Linked DNA regions of Homo sapiens: region 2 is linked to region 1. Evidence: promoter capture Hi-C in 16 types of primary human blood cells and fetal thymus (Javierre and others, 2016). All regions are on one chromosome and are shown on one strand. The core of a region is centred on a gene start or on the middle of the fragment in contact, and the rest is flanking DNA. Distances in the headings are between cores, read along the strand shown.

Evidence for each region. Contacts are between HindIII fragments. The CHiCAGO score rates a contact against its expected background, and 5 or more counts as called.
Region 2: a fragment that was not itself captured here is called in contact with the fragment with the promoter of TMED5 in region 1 in 1 of 17 cell types (activated CD4 T cells); the score reaches 5.3 in activated CD4 T cells.

Annotation. Positions count from the first base shown.
Region 1 is chr1:93,177,945-93,182,104 of GRCh38, reverse strand. TMED5 (transmembrane p24 trafficking protein 5) reads left to right here and starts at 1,692. Exons shown (of 4, transcript NM_016040.5): 1 at 1,692-2,051. The coding sequence starts at 1,863. It overlaps CCDC18 (coiled-coil domain containing 18), which reads right to left and starts at 1,381. Exons shown (of 29, transcript NM_001378204.1): 1 at 1,253-1,381. RefSeq lists enhancers at 1,082-1,291, 2,162-2,311 and a silencer at 1,352-1,631. The HindIII fragment of the contact is 9,002 bases long and covers 1-4,160 here.
Region 2 is chr1:89,995,823-89,999,982 of GRCh38, reverse strand. It overlaps ZNF326 (zinc finger protein 326), which reads right to left. Exons shown (of 12, transcript NM_182976.4): 2 at 1,829-1,873. Among named protein-coding and RNA genes, the nearest start is that of ZNF326, 2.8 kb to the right of the region's middle. RefSeq lists enhancers at 4,158-4,160, 4,089-4,160. The HindIII fragment of the contact is 2,215 bases long and covers 1,358-3,572 here.

The DNA.
Region 1 (4,160 bases), core at 443-2,942:
GACAAGTCAATAAATCAGGTCCCCATCCTGCTTTACCTATTCAACATCTCTAGCTCTCTGTAGGATGGTGAAGGAGAAAAGGGTAGAGAAAATTGGGCAAATTCTATAATACCATTTGGTACTATATATTTCATCTTAAATCAGGTTTTAGTTCAACATCTGTGTATTGCCATGCAAGAAATAACTCCCAGTCCGGGCGCGGTGGCTCACGCCGGTAATCCCAGCACTTTGGGAGGTCAAGGCGGGTGGATCACGAGGTCAAAAGTTAAAGACCAACCTGGCCAAGATGGTGAAACCCCGTATCTACTAAAAATACAAAAAAATTAGCCGGGGGTGGTGGCGAGCGCCTGTAATCTCAGCTACTCGGGAGGCTGAGGCAGAGAATTGCTTGAACCTGGGAGGCGGAGGTTGCAGTGAGCCGAGATCGCGCCACTGCACTCCAGCCTGGGCGACAGAGTGAGACTCGGTCTCAAAAAAAAAAGAAAGAACTCCCTAACTCTTCTGCAGTAGCAATGAATATATTTGATACTAAAATGTTTTCATTTTCCTAGTGGGACATTTACTGTCAAATGAATGTCCTTAACTTCAATTTACAGTAGTTACCCAAAAAAGGCTATCTTCACTGACTATGCATACCTAGAAAAGCACATCATCCTACTCACCGACCTTAACAACATCATCTTTCGGCCCTAATTAACAATGTGTTTGTAGGTTTGCACACGCACACCCATCAAACGAAGGACAAGTGTTCTTTTATACCCTATGTATGTGATACAATGGGCTGTAGTCGAAAAAGATTCCTCATTTTGGAAAGAAGTCATAACTTTATGTAGTAGTCTCCTGTCTCAAGATCGCTTGACACAGCTAATCTTACATCCGTCTGAAAGAAGCGGGGGCGGGGGTGGGGGACGGAAGTGACAGTTTCCTCTTTTTTTTTTTTTTTTTAATTTTATAGAGACAGTGGCTCGCCATATTGCCAAGGCTGGCCTCGAACTCCTGGGCTCAAGCAATCCTTCCGCCTCGACATCCCAAAGTGCTGAGGTAACAGGCGTAAGCCACTGCGCCCGGCCTCCTATTTTTCATCAAATAAAATACAACCGTTCAGAGCAGCATGCTCAGCAACCACGAGGACCAGTCCCAGCGCATCCAAGGTGCCGGGAGGGAAAGGAACAGAACTCCCCCAGGTAAGCCGGTTTCCCCACGCCAAGGCGCAGTCGCTCACCACCCAAATCGTCGCTGGGGAGAGACCCACCCGGCGACTGCGCGCTTCGCACTCGAGTCTGCGTTAGGAAGCCTCTGACCCTTTCCCGGGCCCCTGCGCGTGGAAGCCTCGGACACAACTCGGAGAACCAGCGAACCCCGGCAGCACAGAATTCGAACCGCCGCGGGAGCCGTTGGGACGCGCCTACCCGGTCACTGCCCCGCCCCGGCGCAGACTGCGTGAGGCGCCGCCGAAGGCGCGGGGCTTGCCGGGGATCGTGGTCGGCGAGCGCGCCCGAGCCCACTAGCGGAGCCCGCCCGGGACTACATTTCCCACAATTACCGCCATGATGCCCATTGGTGGGGGAAGCCATGGGAACCGGAGGCCGTCAGGGGGAGAGGCGGGCGGCGCTCACGCCTGGCCTGAGGGGGCCGAGACTGAGGCGGTTGCGGAATAGGACTGCTAGCCCCGCCCAGAGTCCCTACCCTTTGGAGAACTGCGCTTCTCTTTCGGAGGGAGTGTTCGCCGCCGCCGCGGCCGCCACCTGGAGTTTCTTCAGACTCCAGATTTCCCTGTCAACCACGAGGAGTCCAGAGAGGAAACGCGGAGCGGAGACAACAGTACCTGACGCCTCTTTCAGCCCGGGATCGCCCCAGCAGGGATGGGCGACAAGATCTGGCTGCCCTTCCCCGTGCTCCTTCTGGCCGCTCTGCCTCCGGTGCTGCTGCCTGGGGCGGCCGGCTTCACACCTTCCCTCGATAGCGACTTCACCTTTACCCTTCCCGCCGGCCAGAAGGAGTGCTTCTACCAGCCCATGCCCCTGAAGGCCTCGCTGGAGATCGAGTACCAAGTAAGTGCGGAGGATAAACCAGCCTCCTTCCTTTAACCCAGCTGCACTGCGTTGTCGCCTCTCACCCGTTTAGAAACTTCTGGTGGACGGCCCTGGTGGTGAAGAGGCGAGGGCCGTTCAGGAAGCCAGCCCGCTCCGCGCAGGCGCGCGAGGCGAGGCGAGGCTCTCGCTGGGGCCGGGGACCCAGAACTTAGGCTGGACCTGGAATTGATGACTACCCGCCTTCTCCCCTTTCCTCCGGTGGGAAGGAGGCCAGAACTGGTGATGTCGCTGGCTTTTCTCTTTGTTTCCTAATTCGCCCACTGCTTTTCTTAGCCACTACACGCTCTCATACTGAGAATTTCACAATGCAGAACTGATACACGTTCTCCTTCATCATTGGACAAGGTGATGACACTTGTTTGAATCACCCCCACCCCTTTCACACAGTTCAGATGTTACAAATCACTGTCTTTGCTTCAGTTAAGGGTTTTTGGATTATGATCGTGTAATTGGCATTAAGCCCGATTTTGAAATTTTTTGGAAGACGCTGTTGCTATATTTAATGATACATTTCCGTTTAAGTTATATATCCATTATTTTCAAAAGATCAAATCGTATATTAAAACTTTATAACCTTTCTTTTCATTTTTTCATTGAGCATTGTAAGCATTTCCCTCGTGTCATTGTTTTTTTTTTTTTTTTTTGAGACGGAGTCTCGCTTTGTTGCTCAAGCTAGAGTTGGAGTGCAGTGGCGCTATCTCGGCTCATTGCAACCTCCGCCTCCCGGGTTCAAGCGATTCTCCTGCCTCAGCCTTCCGAGTAGCTGAGATTACAGACGTGCGCCACCATGCCCAGCTAATTTTTGTATTTTTAGTAGAGACGGGGTTTCACCATGTTGGCCAGGCTGGTCTCGAACTCCCGACCTCAGGCGATCCACCCGCCTCGGCCTCCCAAAGTGCTGGGATTACAGGCGTGAGCCACCATGCCTAGCATGTTTTCTTTTTAGTATCTGCATAATATTCTTGCTGGGAATTACCTTATTTTATGTAGTCATGGTGGTAGGGGGTAATTTCTTAGAAGAAATCTTGTTCGTTCCACAGCAAATTCCGATGTTTTCAGGTAGCAGTACAGGGGGGAAAGAAAAGGCATTGATGTGTTTCATCTTTCAGTTTTTTAGAAGTTAATTATAATCATCAAATGTTAATTTTTTAAGTTGATGTAGAGAATTGTTTTTAAATACCAGGTACTGTCACATACAGAGCAAAATAAAAAGTTGTAGAATTTTTTATACGATGGAACTTTAGGATTAAGTTGTATATAGATACACACGATAAGCACAGAGAATAAAATATCTAAAATCACATAGTGAGCAAAACTGAGGCTAAAACTCAGTGTTTCTTGATTTCCAGTAAAGTTCAAAAGTTCAACATTTACTGAACAGTTAACACGTGCCAGGAATTGTGCATGGAGGTGGGGGAGACGGAGGGGGAGCTGGGTTGTGCGGGATGTAGGTAAAAGAGAAAGAAAGAATCCCTCTTCTCAAAGAGCTTAATAAAGGTTACTGGCTCATAAACAGGTAATTTCAATAAAGGATGGCTAAGTACCAGTAGAGGAGGGTCACTTCTAAGGGTTTCAGAAGAGGATTCCTGGAGAAAATAAAATTTAATCCAGAAAGATGCTTAATTGAGACGAAAATGCCAGGAACAAGGGGCATTTCAGAAAAGCGAACAAAAAGATCCATAGTTCTTAAAATACATAGTGTAAGTGGGGATGGTTAGTGTGTAGTGGACACTACAAGTACTGAGTTTGTATTAGACTTTAAGACATATAAAGTCTAGGGTGGGAGTAGCAGAAAAGGACATCGGAGAGGCCAGAAGGCTGGGGTCATTAAGCATGAATCATAGCCTTGTTTGCCGTGCTGAGTAGGTTTTCCTTAATTTTGTACAAGTCCATTTAAGATTTAAGCAGATCACTGGATGCAGTGTGGAAAATGGATTTAAGGAGAGCAAAATTAGAGTCAAGGAAACTAACTAGAGGGCTAGTGAAATAGTCTAGATAAGAAAACAATTTGTATTAATAAAAAAATCTTCAGTATTTACACACATATTAGGGAAGATATCTATTTTA
Region 2 (4,160 bases), core at 1,216-3,715, 3.2 Mb after region 1:
TTTCCCCTGTGGACTAAATTATGACATATATATTATTTCTTATCTTGTTTACTATTTCATCCCACTAGACGGAAAGCCTCACAAAGGCAGGAATATTTGTCCATTTTGTTCACTGCTATATTCCCACCTCCTAGAACGATATCTGATGCCCAGCAGGCACTAAATAAATATTTGCTGAACAAAGTCAAATTGAATCCCTGAAATTAAGTTCCTCATTTGTAAAATATAGATAATCTAGACCTAGAAGTACTGTCAAGCATTGGTCTTTAATCAGAGGTGCCTTCCAAAATCATTCAGAGTAGTTTTGCACAACATACACAGCCAAAGACCACTTGCCCTGAAATTAAGATTCAAGAGGTATAGGCTATGTGTGAAAAGAGAGACTTTGAAAAAGCTCCCCAAGAGATTCCAACAATCACCCTCAGATGAGAACCAGTTATAACTAAAATTAAGAGAAAAAATAAAAGTCATATTAGATCTTTTTGCAACACTGTATACTAATTAATAAATAAACATCTGGCCCTGCATGAGTCTGCATTTCAAGTCCTATGTTTAGACATTAAATCCAACTATCCAGTAAATCCTAGATGGCCTTTTATCATTACAAACTCTCTCCCTCTCCCCCTCCCTCTTCCCCTCCCCCTCTCCCTTGTAAAAGCACTAGTCATACATTCCAGTTTAAAATCCTGGATTCATTTTTATTCAACCCTCTCAATTTTCTACCCATTACTAGTCAGCCTGCAAGTTCTGCTAATTTGCTCTTTATTTTTAAGATTACTACTACTATCACCTCCCAAGTTCAAGGCCTTAAAATCTTTATATCAAAACTTATGAAATGGCTTTCTCGTTAATTTTCCAGTTTTCAATATAACTTACATGTGGATGCAAATTAAACTTCCTTTGGTAATTTTCAATTTCCAGCTCACAAATACATTCTTCAGTACTAACTCCCTATATGTTAAGCCTTTTTAGCCCACATGAAATCCAAAGTTTATCTTAATCTTTAAAGATAATGAAATAAAAATTAACTGTTCAGTAATTATTCCCATAAATGGCATAGTCTTTAGTATACATTTGCTTCAGTTTTACTTTGTGAATATATTCTATTCTGTACGAAAGTTGGATTTTACATTTCTCTGGCAATCATGATATTTAATGCCTCAAGTCCTTCATATGTTTTTTAACCTGCATTAATTGTTCTGTGTTCTTTTTTTGTATTATTATCTTGTGTGGCAGGGCCCTAACTCTAATAACTATCAAAATGACATCCAATTGTATTCTACATACCTCTCATGATTCTATCTAGTTCTATAGTCACAAGTCTAATGTCATGCTCATGTCAATAAACAATCAAGCTTCTTCATGTGCTCCTCTAGACAGCTCTTTATATACTAACACATTTGGACACACTGAAGAAAATGACCTCAAAAACAAGGTCAAAATGCATTACAATACAAGCTATATAGAACCAAGCCAATAATCCACTTAGTCTACATTACTCAATACCAAAGCCTCTAATTCAACCAAAATAACTCAGCCAGTGTCTTGTGATTCATCACTCAGAATGTAGTTAGGCCCTTTGGAACACATTAAAATAATCATAATTCAAACAAAATGGACCAAAAAAAAAATCAAACTAATGTGAATAACCCCTAACATTTTCTGATAGCACATTCCCCAATTCAAATACTATATATAGTAAGACAATATTAACACATAAATGATATATCAAGAACCAAAACAAGGACTGAAATAGGTAGAACTGGCCTTTTACATTGATACTATATTTTTATGCGCATGAAGAGAAAAGCTGAAAGAGGATACTTACCATTAAAGCCCTGATAAGTATTCCTGCAGGCGGAGTGTGTGTAATCTATGAAGACACATTTAACAAAAAGGAATTAGTGTGATATTAGCAATAATTCAAAATTATATGCCGATCCAGTAAAAAACAAGCACAATTTTTAAAATGACATTAACCCAATTATCTGCAAAACTGAGAATAGTTAAAACAAATAATTACCAATACTCCATTCCAGAAAATGTATCTCTTTTTTCTTCACTATCTCCCCAAATGGTAGGTTTATTATCCAAATTATGGTAAACATTAGTTTACAACACCTGATACATAATAACAGCCAAAAGAGGGGATTCAGCACTGATTTGTACCAAGTAACACAAAGGCAGATAGATTAAATTATGTATCAAATAATGCAAAAGCAAAGACATCTGAGAATTGTACGTAACATGAAATTTTTGCTAAGTTAATTTCTTTTACCATTTAATTTGCTCTTTAAAGATTTCAAGATCTTGGCCGGGCACGGTGGCTCACGCCTGTAATCCCAGCACTTGGGAAGGTGAGGTGGGCGGGTCACGAGGTCAGGAGTTCGAGACCAGCCCGTCCAATATGGTGAAACCCTTTCTCTACTGGAAATATAAAAATTAGCCGGGCCTGGTGGTGCGTGCCTGTAGTCCCAGCTACTAGGGAGGCTGAGGCAGAAGAATCACTTGAATCCAGGAGGCAGAGGCTGCAGTGAGCCAAGACTGCACCACTGCACTCCAGCCTGGGCGACAGAACGAGACTCTGTCTCAAAAAAAAAAAGATTTCAAGATCTTATCTGAGACATGCATATGCATATACATATATGACTGTGTTCTATATTCAAGCAGAATGTGTCATCACTGAAAACCATATTGCCAATTTCCTCATCAAAACTAATTTAACAACTGTTAAATTCTTTAGTTAATTTTACAAATATATACTGAAAGAACAGAATTTAATATAGTGGTCATCTGGATACAACAGAATCCTGCTACACTATACAGGAATAGATTCATATATGGTGTTAGTCAAACTCCATCTTCCAAATACAGCAGTGGTATATTTGGGCAGTGAGACAGGGCGTATTTCATCACTAATATTGTTTAGAATTTCTATCACTGACACTGTTTAGAATTCTGGCATATGGCAATAACAGAAAGCAGACATACTACATTTTATTATTGTTTTTCAATTCTCCATAGAAATGGATTCCCTTATTGCCTTGGGTGGGGAGTGGAAAGAACTGTTTCTACTGCCCCACCTCCACTTTGTTAGCCTCTGCTATACCTTGGGTGTTGGCATTATCATCAAACTACAGCATGAAAATACAATAATATATTTTTTATTTTCACTCCCAACTCTGGCCACTTCAAATATTCATAGTTTTTTGTTTTGTTGTTGGTTTTTTGTTTTTTTTTTTTCAGACGAAGTTTGGCTCTTGTTGCCCAGGCTAGAGTGCAATGGCACGATCTCGGCTCACTGCAACCTTCGCCTCCCGGGTTCAAGGGATTCTTCTGCCTCCGCCTCCCAAAGTGCTGAGATTACAGGTGTGAGCCATCGTGCCCAGCCCAAATATTCATAGTTTAAAGGTATCTACATCAAAATGAGTTAAAGTCCAACCAAAACAAACAAAACCACGAGAGTGTGCTACTCTTAAGAGCTGAACTTACTATTTCAAAGTAACTGAAAAGTATCTACAAGAGGGCTATTCCAGTCCCCTTTCACAAATCTGTACCTAGATATGAAAGCTTTAATTCTTTGTTGCATGAAATGTTATGAAAAATCAAAAGCTCATCGAGTAAGACATATGCTGAGATCACACCTCATTTAAAGATCATTTTTTTGGTGGGGTTAAAAGTTTACAGCCTACTTAGTGAACTGGTTTTACTTAAGCATGCCTGGTTACTCAGGATTAAATCCAGTTTAATCACATAAGTCCTTTCCCATGTCTCCCTAATGTTGTCACTACATACCACTTTATCTTGACACCAATTCCAAGCAAGGTTTGAAAACAAAAGTGAAGACCAAATTAATATTACTTTGTGACCCTGTAAAAGTGGTTTAAAGAATTAGTATCTGAGACAACTGAAAAGTATTGCTAAAATACAGTTTATTTAATCCGTAAGTCAAACACTTACAAGGCTGTGTACAGGTCTAAATGTGAAGGACATTTGATGCTTGCTGTGCCAAAATTCTGATTAACTTAAATCCTACCTACACACGATCCAAAGAAAAGTGCTTTGGTTCACATAAATATTTCAAGTTAGGGATTAATAAGCAGGTAATTTTTGGTGATAAACACCCCAGTTTACTAACCAGGAAACATCTTGCTTTCCAT